Regions from separate parts of the Homo sapiens genome. Here region 2 is linked to region 1. The links are contacts of gene promoters, found by promoter capture Hi-C in blood cells and fetal thymus (Javierre and others, 2016). All regions are on one chromosome and are shown on one strand. The core of a region is centred on a gene start or on the middle of the fragment in contact, and the rest is flanking DNA. Distances in the headings are between cores, read along the strand shown. Region 1 holds the start of FGFR4 (fibroblast growth factor receptor 4). Region 2 has its middle 24 kb from the start of TSPAN17.

Region 1 (7,002 bases), core at 2,737-5,236:
TTCCCACACAGGCCTCCTCTTCTCAGTGATCAGATGAGCAGCAGCGGGGACACAAGTCCTTGGAGACCTACTGACCTTGCTGGGGGTAACTGTGCCTATTCGAGGGGTCCCTATGGGACTTGGGGTCCTCATCATCGTTGCTGGAGGTCAAGGAGTCTACATCAGGGACAGAGGGAAGCATCTAAGGTCCAAGAGGGGCAGGTCTGTCTCCCCAGGCATCCCTTCACTCCCTGCTAGAGTCTCTTACCACCTGTAATCAAGGTGAGATTCTGCAGGACGATCATGGAGCCTCGTGCCAGGCAGAGGTAGCGGCCAGCATCCTCAGGTAGGAAGCTGGCAATCTCTAGGCGGCCCCTCCAGCCCCGTACACGGCCAGCAGGTGCCAGGCGACTGCCCTCCTTGTACCAGTGGCCACCACGCTCAGCCCGCCCACAGCACAGACGCACAGGCTGCCCAAGGGCTACTGTCAGCTCCTGCTCTTGCTGCTCCAGGCTGGGAGCCAGGCAGGGCTCTGTGGGCAGAGGGCAGAGGTCAGCAGACCCCGCAGCCCCATCTGAGGCAGCCTCCTGTGTACAAAGAACACACCGCACATGCAGGGCACAAGCACTTTGCAACGCATGCTGAAGGAGCCACCACTCCTTGACACCCACACAGCCACATGCTGCGGATGCCACACCCAGGGCAAATGCCACACTCTTGGGGCATGTCACACACACAGCATTTAGTGCACACGACAGTGGCCAAGACACACACACACACACACACGCATACACACACACACATACGGACACACACACACACAAGGCACATGCTGTTGGTGCCACATACAGGGTCATGCTGCACCGGGGCATATCACCCTCATAATGCTTATACCACACATGCTGCCTGGACCTCCTAGGTCACACACCCAGTGCACAGAACACACACACACACGCACACACACCCAGGTAAGGAGCTCACCACCAGCTCTGCAGCCCAGCTTAGGGCCCTGCGCCCTGCAAGGCCAGTCCTCTCTCGCAGACACAGTGATAGATGAATGCTTGCTGGAAGCCAGGCACTGACTGAGTCTCAGTGGTTGAGCCCTGCCCTGCCGCCACCTTCTCAGGGCCTGGGCAAGGATCCTTTCCAGCTTTGCTCAGCCCAGCAGCCCCCTCCTGGTGCCCACTCTTCCCACCCCTGCCACCCTCTCCCACCTCAGAAGCCATACCAAGCTCCACTTCCTCAGAGGCCTCCAGGGACAAGACTGGAGGCCCAGGCACACTCAGCAGGACCCCCAACAGGGCCAGCAGCAGCCGCATCTCCTTCTCACAGCTCTCAGGGACCCAAGCTGGACTTCCCACCAACTGCCTTCCTAAAATAGGGAGGGAAAAGAGCTCCTGCTACACGTGCACCTTTGTGGGGGCTTTTCCCTTATTTTGCAGATAAGGAAACTGAGACAGGAAGTGGCCAGCAGATGTGTCCAAGTCCCTGGCCAGGCTGTGGCAGTGCAGACTGGAACCAGCTCTGTAGTAGCCAGAGCCTAAGGCCTCCCCACGGTAGGTTGTGCAAGGGGTCTGGGCTGGGCTTCCTGCTCTCCCTGAGTCCTGCTGGGACCCTGGCACACGTTCACAGAAAGCAGTTTTGGGATTCTTTTTTGGAGGGAAGCAGAGAACGGAGACATATCTTCTGCATGCTCTCGGCACACATAATTTCTTTTTTGCTAAATAAATGAATTGATTGCAGAAGAGCCAAAAAAGAAAGTGAAAAATGACACAAGGTCAAACTTCAGCATCTGGATGGCATCTGATCCGATCCCCACTCCTTACAGCATTACTGACATTTCCAGGGCTGGGTGGTCACAACTGACAAGGCGGCCCCTTCCGTGGCAAGCAGGACCGCGACCCTGGATACCTCTGCTTGTTATGCACCAACTCCATCTGAGGCACACACGGTTTTGTAAAGAATACAGACCCTAATTTTCCATCTGCCAGAGCCAAGTTCAAATCCTGACTCTCACCAACTTGTAATTCCTTGTCTCTGTCTCTCTCTGGCTTACTATCCTCATAGGACTGTTTTGAGGATAAAAGAGAGAACGTGCGTCGGCACGCAGAGTGTTGGAATGTTCTCCTCCCTGTGCCCGGCCCTAGAACGGTTAACCTGTTGCCCTGGGTCTGCCCTTAGCCAGTCACCTCTGGTTCGGATGCTGTTACTGTCAGGCTGTGATGTACACACACCCCAGCTGGCTATCCTCTTCCAAATGCTACCAAGGACGCCTCTGTTCCCCAAAATAGAACACTCAGAACTGAGTCTCAGCTGGGACAAAGGAATCGGTGACCACTGCAGTCCTAGGGGCCTATGGGTGGCACTGGTGTCTCTGGATCTACCCTGCGTGGGAAGCCTATCACACCTCCTCCTCCTTGGTCACTGCCACTCCACTTCCAGTCCATCTGGCTTCCCCTGCCCCTTCTCAAGGCAGGTCATGGCCATCTCTTGCATGGGCCTCTGGAAACATCCTCTCCCTCGGCTCTTCAACCTTCATCTTCCAGCAGAGTTTTAAAAAACTACAAGTCGGCTGGGCGCGATGGTTCACACCTGTAATCCCAGCACTTTGGGAGGCCGAGGTGGGCGGATCACGAGGTCAGGAGATCGAGAACATCCTGGCTAACACGGTGAAACCCCGTCTCTACTAAAAATACAAAAAATTAGCCGGGCGCGGTGGCGGGCGCCTGTAGTCCCAGCTACTCGGGAGGCTGAGGCAGGAGAATGGCGCGAACCCGGGAGGCGGAGCTTGCAGTGAGCCGAGATCGCGCCACTGCACTCCAGCCTGGGCGACAGAGTGAGACTCCGTCTCAAAAAAAACAAAATAAAAAAATAAAATAAAATAAAAAAACAAACAAAAAAACCTGCAAGTCTGCCATGTCATGCCCCCCAGCTTGCAAGCCCTTAATGGCTACCTGTGCCCAGCAGGATCCAGCTCAACATCCTAGGGCTCCCTCTCTGCCGCTGCCTATCTCTTTGGTCACACCGTCTGCCCCTTCAGGAGCGCTGAAGCCATTGGCTTTCAAAACTGGGCACATGTGCTCTCTTGCCCATCCCTCTGTGCCCCTCATTGCTCTTCTCTACCTGACTCAGATACTGCTGTCTCTGGCCCACCTCAACTCTCGAATCCAGTCGGATCCTCCTTGGTAAAACTCCCTACCAAGCTCGGCTTGGCAGGGAGGGCAGCTCTTTGGGTACACAGCTTGGGCTGGGAGTGGGTGGGGAGGCCCGGGGAGTTTATTCCTACCCCAGGCTGCCCTGATATCAGAGTCCTTAGTCGAGTCACCCATGGCTGCTGACCGCTGACCGACCACCCCCCACGTGGGAATGGAGGGCCTGCCTTAGGCATCAGACAGTCCTGGGTTCTCCTTCAGCCTCCCGCACTCGCGCTGGAGGCCCCCGGGCACTAAGTGACTGAACTTTTCGGGGCCTCAGGTCCCTCATCTCTGCCGCCGGCGCGAAGACAGCCGCAGGGACAAGCGCGCTTGTCCTCCCCCACCCTTGCCGGGCCAGCCTGGGGGGAGGTGCGAATCAATGGGTCCCGAGGGTAGCTGCACAGGGCCAGCCTGCCCCCGCCTCGGTGGGCAATGAGTAACCAGCTCCGCGGCCGGGGTGCTCTTTGGACGGAGCGGGACAAAAGGCCCTGTGTGCACTGCGGGTTACTGATTTACCGCCCCCTCCACCCCCTGCCGCCCGGCGGACGCCCAGGTCCCCTGCGCCGGGAGGGGCAGTCCCCGTAGCCCCGCCGCCTCTCGCCCCCTGGCGGCTGGGAGCGCAGCCCGGGCCCACAAGGGTTCCGGCTCACCTCGAGCCTGCGTGACTCCGCGCCCAGCACAGGGTCCTGCTCACCTGGCTCCTCCTCACCTGGCTCCTCCGCCGCCTCACTCCCAGCTCCAGCCGGCCGCGACCCCTGCACGCGGCAGGGTCCGCAGACAGCCCGAGCGCTCCTCGGCCGGGAGCGAGGAATGTACCCGCGACGGCGGCGTGGCCGCGAGCGGCCCACCTCCTGTCCCACCCCGCCCCTCGGGCCCGCCCCCTCCTGCTCGGGCCCGCCCCTCCTTCCACGCCCCCCCCCCCCCCACCCGGGCCCGCCCACCTCCTGCCACACCCCCTCGGGCCCGCCCCGCCTAGACCAGCTCGAGCCGGAGAGAGGTGTGGCCAGGGGTGGCCAAGATCCCCGCCCACCTGGAGAGCCCCGCCCCCGACCCAGTCAGCCCACTCCCGGGACCCCGCCCCAGCCTATACACACACCCCTACACGCAACCCCCCTATACACACCCCATTCAGGCTCCGCCTCTTTCGCCCCACCCAGGCCCCAGGCCAGGCTCCTAAATTCTAGTCTACTACCCAGCTCTACTCCTTGCTTTTCACCCTTCAGGGAATGCCTGGCTCCCCTGTCTTCTGCGCAGTGCCGTGCAGCGGATAGGAGAACCCCTTCCTTCTGCTCCCTCATTTGTTCCCTGCGCAACCTGCGGAGTGATACTTACAACACAAATCTGACTGTGTCAGCCACTCCCTTAAATTTTCCTATAGATTCCCATAGCTCTTTATACATAGATTGCCATGACCCACGCCTCCTGGCTCCCACCCTGCTACTCCTGGGCAGTTTCACGTACCATTCTCTCTTCCTGGAATGGCCCTTGGTCTGGTTAATTTCATATTATTCTCAGCTCACTTCCTTCAGGAAGCCCTCTGGACTTGCAAGCTCCTCTTAGATGACGTCTCTACTGTGAGGATGGAGAAAGAAACAGGGTGAAGTGGTTCAGAGCACAGACTACAGGGCTGGACGTCATAGGCCCAGCTCTCAGCACCATCACACAAGGCCTCAGTCTTCACTGTCCTTTCAGTAAAACAGGCAAATGATAGTCTCACCCACAAGAGGTTGTTGCAAAAAGTAGACATGTTAGCAGTATGTGTAAGCCTGGCATGCAGCGCTTGCTTTGTAATACTAGCTGTAATTATTTAGGACCTGTTATTTCTTCAGCACGCTTGCCAGAATTGTAACTGAACAGTTAATTATGTAAATAGCTGTGGAATGGCCGGGCACAATGACGGGTGCCTGTAGTTCTAGTTACTAGGAGACTGAGGTAGGAGGACAGCTTGAATTCAGGAGTGTGAGGCCAGCCCTGGCAACATAGTTGCCCTGTCTCTATTTTTCAGTAGAGGAACTGTGTCCTCAGACCTCACCATTAGAGTTCAAGTGTCTGGCATACAGTAGGTGCTCCCAGATAGCTCCGTGCCCACCTGGCTCATGTTTGCCTCACCTGTAAGCACTTCTCTCCTGAGCATCTAGACTGTGGCCAAACCAGGAGGCCAGGCAGCCTCTGATCTCTGCCCATCCCTCACCTGAATCTCAAGCCTTCTCCTTCTCTTAAGGCACCTTGAGAGGAAGGGAAATGGGCTGGGTGCACCTGTGGTCCCAGCTACTTGGGAGGCTGAGGCCAGAGGATTGCTTGAGCCCAGGAAGTCGAGGCAGCAGTGAGCCGTGATCGCTCCACTGCACTGTAGCCTGGGCAACAGGCTATGGAGCGAGACCCTGTCTGAGGCTCAGGTCCTGGTTGTCCCCTCTAGCTAGTGTAGACCCTGTCTTAAGAAGCAACTTCCTTTCTCATTGTTACGCAGGCAAGTCTAGTTCTTTCCACCCTCACTCCCAAAGGGATAGTGGCATATCTTTGCATAACTGTAAGGCCCATTAAAGAGACTTAAAATTGTTTTTTTCTTTTTCTTCTTAAGCGAAAGAATGGTCTCCTCCCAAAGATAAATCAGAAAATAATTGAGGCCAGGCATGGTGGCTCATGCCTATAATCCCAGCACTGTGGGAGGCTGAATCGGGAGGATCGCTTGAACTCAGGAGTTCGAGGCCAGCCTGGGCAACATAGTGAGATCTCGTCTCTATTAAAAATATATATTAGGCTGGGCACGGTGGCTCACGCCTGTAATCTCAGCACTTTGGGAGGCTTAGGTGGGTGGATCACGAGGTCAGGAGTTCAAGACCAACCTGGCAAGATGGTGAAACCCCAGCTCTACTAAAAATACAAAAAAATTAGCCAGGCATGGTGGCATGTGCCTGTAATCTCAGCTACTAGGGAGGCTGAGGCAGAGAATTGCTTGAACCCGGGAGGTGGAGGTTGCAGTGAGCCGAGATCGTGCCATTGCACTCCAGACTGGGTGACAGAGTGAGACTTTGTCTCCAAAAAAAAAAAAAAATATATATATATATATATATGTGTGTGTGTGTGTGTGTGTGTGTGTCTGTGTGTGTCTGTGTGTCTGTGTGTATATACATACACACAGACACACCCACACATATATATGTATATTATAAATTTTTTTTTAATTGGTTATCTTTTAAAAACAATTTGTCCTGGTTCCCTTCTCTAGAGTCCTGCCTTGCTGGAGCTCCCAGGACAGATGAGGCTCCTGGCCCTGGGAGCTGCCTGCCCAGAGGGTACCTTGCCAGACCTCCCGGACTGCTGGAGGGGTTCAGCTCCCTGCCTCTGGCCCTCTGCTGGCTCCCCTTGTGAATGTGGTTGTGGGGGGAGACAGGGTGAGCCGCCAGCTGGAGCTGGACCCCACATGGCTTTCATTCACCTTCCCGGGCATTTCCTGAGTTTACCAGAGCCAAAGACAAACTAAAAGTTTTCATAGCTCAGGTCTTGCAACCTCCTTGTCTCCTGAGATGCGCAAATCCCTCAGATTTGCAACCCTCTGATGTCCCTAGGATATGTTCCCCATATCCCTTGTCTGCCTCCTCTCCCCGCACTCATAACCTTTCACACTGACCCTCCACAGAGGCTGATGCTCCCTCACAAAGTCATTCACTCATTCACTCATTCATCTGAATGATTATTTATTGAAGGTTCATTATGTGGCATCCACTGTTTTAAATCCTGGGGATAAAGCCCCGAATTGGACTCTTTTTCTTTTCTTTTCTTTGGGAGACAGTGTCTTGCTCTGTTGTCCAGGCTGGAGTGCAGTGGTGTG
Region 2 (7,312 bases), core at 4,769-7,268, 420 kb after region 1:
CGTTCTGAATATCATAGCTCACCCTAGCCTATCTTAAACGTGCTCAGAGCATTGACATGAGTTGGGCAAGATCATCTAACACAAAGCCTTTTTTATTTTTATTATTTTTATTGTGTTTTTATTTTTGTTATATATTTTTTCGATTATTATTATTATTATTTTTTGAGATGGAGTCTCACTCTGTTGCTCAGGCTGGAGCACAATGGTGCGATCTGGGCTCACTGCAAACTCCACCTCCCGGGTTCAAGTCATTCTCCTGCCTCAGCCTCCCGAGTAGCTGGGACTACAGGCACGTGCCACCACATCCGGCTGTTTTTTGTATTTTTAATAGAGACAGGGTTTCGCCATGTTGGCCAGACTGGTCTCGAACTCCTTACCTCAAGTGATCCACCCACCTTGGCGGGTTTACAGGCATGAGCCACCGCACCCGGCCCCACAAAACCTTTTTTATAATAAAGCGTTGAACATCTCATGGCAGAATGCTCGCATGGGTGCTCAGAGTACAGTTTCTCCTGAATGGATGTGGCTTTCACACCACTGTAAGGTCAAAAACCATGAAGTCAAACCATCGTAAGTCAGGGGCCATCCGAAGTCAAAAAAAGGTGAGAATAACCTAAGTGTTCATCGACTGATGAATGAATGAACAAAATGTGGTGCATCGTTCGGCCTCAGAAGGAAGGAAGTGCTGGTTATAGGCCCCAGCGCACACGATCCCTGCAAACGTGGTGCTGAATGAAGGGAGCCCGGTGCAGAAGACCACACACCATGCGCGTGCTCTCCTGTGAGATGCCCGGACCAGGAAAACCTATAGCAACAGTGCGGAGATTTGTGATCGTGGAGATAGGGTGATAGCTAAAGGGTTTCTTTTGGAGGTGATGAAAATGCTCTAAATTGACCGTGATCAAGGTGGCACATATCTGTGAATATACTAAAAACCACTGAATTGTATACTTTAAGGGGGCAAATTGTATGGTATGTGGATTACATCTCAATAACACTTTTTTTTTTGTTTTGTTTGGCTTGGTTTGGTTTTTTTGTTTGTTTGGTTGTTTAAGAAACTCCTTCTAAGTCTTGCAGCTGGACTCTTAAGAGGGTTCCGGAACCTAAGAGTCTCCCAGGATAGAGAGCCCAGTTCCCACCAGGCCACCCGCCTCCTTCCCCCACCTGCTCCCATCACATCTCTGAGGGCTGGGACCAAGTGCCATCCCATGGTGGGGGATGGGGGGCCTGAGCAGGGAGCCTCAGCCCCATACCTGGTAGGCCTTGAGTTGTCTCCCATGCTCGGAGGGAACCCCCTCCCTGTCTCTGTGCTGCTGTCAGGGAGCCAGGGCCCCTGGAGGACTCTCTATGCCCATGCTCTGCACACCCCTGCCCTGTGCTGGCACCACCCAGAGACCTGAGTTTTGCCTTTACCCTGCCCCCTTGGCTGTGCTGGCGGGCTACCCTGCCAGCCACACCAAGTGCTGCTGGTTCTCACCCAGCCCGAGCCTGCAGCCAGCCTTCACATCCCGGGTCTTGCCCGTTTGCCCTTTGCGTGCCTCCCAGGAACCTCACCCACCCCCACCCAGTGGGGTTGCACCTGGAGCTCCAGGGGTCCCCTGGAGCTCTGTGGGTCCCGCCTTCCCACTTCTGCTCTGACACCCTGTCCAGCCAGGGCTTTGCTGTTCCCCTCTCTGCCACCAACTTGCTGCCCAAGACGACCTCATGGGGAACCTTCGTGCAAGAACAGCTGCGCGCTTCCCCTCGCGGTGGCCAGCTGGCTGCAGCCCCACCACAGACACTTTGGACAGCAATGGGACAGTGTCTCCTCCAGCTGAAAATGCACCCCTCCCCACCGGAGAGTTCACTGCTCACCTGCCCTCAAGAAAGCCTTGCCCAGACCCCTCGAAGCATTCTTTGTCATTGTGAAAAGCTGGAAGCCACCCAAGGGTTCATCGGGGGGCACCGGGGGCTACAGCACAGGACAATCACAGACAGGAGCACCCCGGACAGCTCCAGGAGTGACCCAGACCCACACAAGGCTCAAAAATATGTCCAGTGAGAAAAACCAAGGAGCTGAATGAGACAGCGTGACACCTTTTAAGAAAGGGGTAAAGGGCCAGGTGTGGTGGCTCATGCTTGTAATCCCAGCACTTTGGGAAGATGGCTTGAACGCAGGAATTCAAGACCAGCCTGGGTTGTGAATACAGGGAGACCCCGCCTCTACTAAAAATGAAATTAGCCGGTGTGGTGGTGCACACCTGTAGTCCCAGCTACTCTGGAGGCTGAAGCAGGAGGATCACTTCAGCCCAGGAGGTCAAGGCTGCAGTGAACTGAGAGCACACCACTGCACTCCAGCCTGGGCCACAGAGTGAGACCTTGTCCCAAAAAACAAAAAAAAAAAAAAAAAAAAAAAAAGGGAGGGGGATGGTGGGGTGGGAATTCACAAAAGAGTATTACCTCTTTTAAGGCATCTTTATATATTTGTAAAATCAAGAGGAAAAAATCTTAACAGTTGTTACTTCTGGGAAGGGTAGAGGGCGCTGGGATTGGGGCTGATGGTCACAGGGTCTTTACCTGTGATGTTCTAGTGTTTTCAAAAGGAGAATGGATCCTTGTATGACACGTGTAATTTATCATAACCCAAGAAAGACAAAGAATTCCAACAGCTGGACCACATGCCCCTTGTGCCAGCCTCATTGCTGTTTCCCTCAAGGACCCTCCTGGCTCCCTGAAGCCCCCCCGCCCCATGCCCCGCCACACCCCCTGTCTCGCCCCCCACCCCTCACGCCTCCCTCAGTCCTCTGCCTCTCAATGGACCTAGAGCTGGAGGCTGTTAGATCTTCCATTTAAAACTCCTCTCTGTGCCCGCATTGGGGAGTTTCTTATTCCCTTTCAGATGTAACTGTCTGTCACCAATAATAGTCTTTTTCGATTTCATTTCCTTCAGCTCCTGCCAGCCACTCTGAGAGCCTCCTTCCCATCCCTGCTGCCCCCCCCAGCCCCAAGTCAAGGGAAAAAAATACATTTTTGCCTTTACTATGATGTATGCGATCCCATAAAATAGTGAAACAGATATGAAAGGTTGAGAGAAGGTAGATAAATGGCTCCTATTATTCTACCAATCAAATGAAATACCTCTCCACGTCCTCATTTGAATGATAATAAAACTCGGAGAGGCTGCTGGTTCGCTGTTGTCATTGCTGCCAGCAGCCTTGAGCCGCGGAGCCACAGGCCAAGGTAACCTTGGGGTGTCCTCTGCAGGACCTGCAGGGGCCTGCATACCCCCTACCCCATCTCCTCGCCTCCCCACTGCCTGCCCCGCACAACAGCTCTTCCCCAACCCCACCCTCCCCTTCCTGCCGCACCCCCAGGTCACCTCTGTTTGCCCAGGCCCCTGCTCCCTCCAAGGTCCACAGGGTAGAGCCAGGGCCCAAGAATCAAAACCCAGGGTCTCTCACGCAAGGAATGCCCTCCTTTCTGCCACAGCCTTGGCCCTACACTGCTCAGCCTTCCTGGCCTCCTTTGAAAGCCCCTGCCTGCCGTCCAGGTGGGTCGCCTCTTCGGGCATTCCCCAGCCCTTGCCACACACCTCAGTGACTGGACGGTAGCCTTGTGTGTGCCAGGTCTCTGCAGCTCTCTTCTAAATTCCTAGCAGGTGGGGCCAGGTGGGACTGCCAAGGCCCATGTGCTGGGCTTCTTTCGTCCCACGTAAACTTCACAAGTGTCCCCCGTGTGGAGACGCTGGATCAGAGAACAGGTGGGAAGTCCTTCCCTGGGCTGGCCACTGGGTAGGTGCCGGCCACTTCTGAGGCTCACAGTGCCGAAGCCTTCTGCTGTTTCTGCCCCTTGGAGTTCACAGTTCTGTTTCCCATGCATTTGAGTGCTTCCGGCAAGCCTCACCTGACACCACTCTCCCACTCCACCCAACCAGGGGACACTTAGGACTTTTTCCTTCCCTGCATTTCCCCCACATTTCGGGGAGCCCACTGCAGGCCAGCTTGGCAGCCTGCCAGTCATGAGACCCACCCTCCACCCTGGTGGGTACTCACCCCTCTGTGCAATTTTGAATCTCAGCAGGATTTCTTATCTGAGTGGCCACACCCTAAAGAGACTTTCCTTCAGTTCTCACCACCCAGCTCCCCAGCGTGGCCCTGACTTCTGCCCTTTCCTTCCAATTAATTCCCCCTTGCATTAAGGCAGTCAAAGTCAGGCCGGGCACTGTGGCTCACACCTGTAATCCCAACACTTTGGGAGGCTGAGGCAGGTGGATTATTTGAGGTTAGGAGTTCAAGACCAACCTGGTCAACATGGTGAAACTCCATCTCTACTAAAAATACAAAAAAAAAAAAAAAAAAAAAAAATTAACCAGGTGTGGTGGCAGGTGCCTGTAATCCCAGCTGCTTGGGAGGCTGAAGCAGGAGAATCACCTGAACCTGGGAGGCAGTTGCAGTAAGCCAAGATTGCACCAGTGCACTGCAGCTTGGGCAACAGAGAGAGACTCTGTCAAAAAAAAAAAAAAAAATAGTAGTCAAAGTCAGTTTTTGGTACCAGGACTGGCCAAAACATGGACAATGCCCCAAGTTGGTCCCCAGAGCATTGGGACTTCCTCTGTCATCTCCAAGATCTGCAACAGTGCATCTGCCTCTCCTCCATCAGGGCAGGGGCCTGTCTGGGCCCCTCTCCTCCCCTGATTTCCAGCCTCAGGGACAGTGCCGGGACCCACAGGAGATGGGGTCAATGACAATGAATGAAACTGTGGAAATGGTACCCATTTTAGAGATGAGGAAGATGAGCCCCAGAGGACAAGCAACAACTCAGCACCCAGATCTTCGTCCTCGTTCCCCGGACCTGGGGCTCTTCCCTCTGCATCAGTTGCTGTCAAGTACCAGGCTGTCCCCAGTCCAGGGCTTCCTTGAGCCAACAGATGGGCAGGAGGTGGAGTCCAGGGGAAGAGCCTGCTAAGAGACAAGCTGGTGCTGAGGCCTCAGGGGCTCGAGGGAGGGGAGCATCCACTGTGGCATGCAGGGATCGCTGAGCGCAAGCAACGGAAAGCTTCTGCGAGGCTTTGGGAGGTTGTCAGGCAGCTCACTGGATGGCTGGGACACAGAAACCTGGAAAGGGTGCAGAGCAAAGGCTGCCTAGAGCCTGCTCTGGCCATTTCTCAGTCCCTGTGTCAGTTCTCTGCACAGGGATCAAAGCCCCACCATAGAGAAGGGCCAGACAAGCCAAGCCCTCAGCATGTGGAGCTCCTCCAGAGAGTGTAAGGCCTTGGTGGCAGCTCATCCCCTGCAAATGCTAGAGGAGGATGAGCCCCCAAAGCAAAAGCCGGTGGCGTCACCTCCAGCAGGGGAATGTATTCAGGGCAGCTGAAGCCCTAGAAGCCAGCCAGCCAGCCCACCCAGCCTGTCAGTCTTGGCTGTAGCCCTGCTCAGCCTGTGAAGGGCTGCAGTGGGGCTGGGGTGCAGCCCGCTGCTGTGGCTCAGGCCCCATAATCACAGGCTTGGAGCTCAGGGATCTCAGAGGGGACTGAATCTGCACTTTGCAGCTGAGGACCTCTAGGCCCCTGGAGAGGCAATGACAGAGCCAAGGCCCTCCCACCCACCATGGGGCCACTCTGAATAGGGACCCCCAGGCCTCCCCCAGGGAAGAGATTGTGCGCCAGTGCCAGTTGCTGTGAGCCATGTGATATTCAGCAGGCCACCATAGCTCTGCTCCGAGCCCAGCTCCTTATGCATAAAATGAGGCTGCTTTGCAGGGCTACTGCAAGCATTAAGCAAGTAATAAATGTATGTGCTCCTAAGCTGACACTTAGAATGGAAATGAAAACATATGTCCACACATGGATTTGTACACGAAAGTTCACAGCAGCTTTGTTCATGATCACCAAAAACTGGAAAGAACCCAAATGCTCCATCAACTGCTGAGTGAATGGAGAAGCTGGCGTAGCCCCACAATGGAATACTCCTCAGCAACAAAAAGAACAACAGGGATGAATCTCAGCAGCGTCATGCTAAGTGACAGAAACCGGACTCAAAAGGTGGCATCTGTATGACTGCATATATGACCGGCTCTCATGCCTGGCAGTAATGTTCTGTGACATTCCCGGGAACACTGAATTCACTGGTATGGAAGCATTGCTCCCAGGGAAATGCAGAGTTAGGTTCCTGAGATCCTCTGCTCACAAGATTTTGGTCACCTGACCAATGCATACATCTGTGGCATGTGTTCTTATGTTTAAAGACACCTTATTTAATATAGAGGCTGTTGATCTGTGAGCATGAACTCATGGCCACAGAACTATAACTCATGACTGAGCAAAGCTCATCCAACACATGCATTTTCTCTGTAAGACACATCGCAGCCTTCTAGCATCAAGGAGCACCAGCCAGGGCCTCACTCTGATGCTTGAGGGCCATTTTCAACAGCGAAATCCCCAACAAAAAGTACAAAAATGCGGGAAAGGTGGCCCTGAGTAGACGGGGGAAAGTCGCTCGTTGAGTTTGACCTCCGCAGGAAATGTGTGCATCCACAAACGAAACTTCTCAGTGCTCTGCTGATGTCCAGGAATGATCACAAAAGTGCCACGAGGATTGATCTGGGGGTTACAAATAAATTTTTGCAAGTCATCAACTTCACAAATATGGAATCCGTGAATACTGAGGATTGACTATATGCAAAACTTTAGAGAAAAAAATAGAAATCTAACCCGCAGTGACAGAAAGCAGCTCAATGTTTGTTTGGCAGCAGGGTAGGAGCAGAGATTGACATAGAAGGACCACAGGGCACCTTCTGGGTGATGGAAATGTTCTCTATCTTGGTGGTTACACAGGGGAATAAATTTGTAAAACCCACTGAAATATGCACCTAAAGTGTGGAGACTTCGATGTATGTAAATTAGACTCAATAAATTGACTTTACAAAAACTCCTTAGCATGATGCCTGATCATTCCTCCACTCCTCTAGGGATCTCGGGATCAGCTCCCTTGGGAGGGGCGCTATGGGACAGAGGAAGAAGCTTGGGCTCCATCTGGAAGTGGTTTGCATCTCGCCCCCACCCCCGAGACAGGGCATGTCTGACCCAGGCCTTCAGCTTCTCCCTTCTTTCCCACTATGTCCATCAGGACTTTCAGTTGAAGATGACAGAAACCCAGCTCGGACCCCCTTAGACAAAACAATGGCTCTGCCATAAGATATGGCTACACCTACAGCTCAAGTGCCATCACCAAGCCAAGGTTGCCCACCTTCTCTGGACTCTATGTTTCTCTGTCAGCCTCACTCTGGGACCACAGGCAGGAAGGTGGTCACCAACAGCTTTTAGAACTCCAAGGGA

The links. The method cuts DNA at HindIII sites, captures the fragments that hold promoters and counts their contacts. A CHiCAGO score of 5 or more calls a contact.
Region 2: a contact is called between a fragment that was not itself captured here and the fragment with the promoter of FGFR4 in region 1, in 1 of 17 cell types (endothelial precursors). The highest score is 5.6, in endothelial precursors.

Annotation. Positions count from the first base shown.
Region 1 is chr5:177,083,899-177,090,900 of GRCh38, reverse strand. FGFR4 (fibroblast growth factor receptor 4) reads right to left here and starts at 3,986. Exons shown (of 18, transcript NM_213647.3): 1 at 3,824-3,986; 2 at 1,208-1,351; 3 at 248-511; 4 at 76-156. The coding sequence starts at 1,298. RefSeq lists an enhancer at 3,470-3,920, silencers at 3,616-4,075, 4,326-4,375 and a promoter at 3,886-4,105. The HindIII fragment of the contact is 20,491 bases long and covers 1-7,002 here.
Region 2 is chr5:176,668,280-176,675,591 of GRCh38, reverse strand. No RefSeq gene overlaps it. Among named protein-coding and RNA genes, the nearest start is that of TSPAN17, 24 kb to the right of the region's middle. RefSeq lists enhancers at 2,863-3,426, 3,427-3,992. The HindIII fragment of the contact is 1,963 bases long and covers 5,037-6,999 here.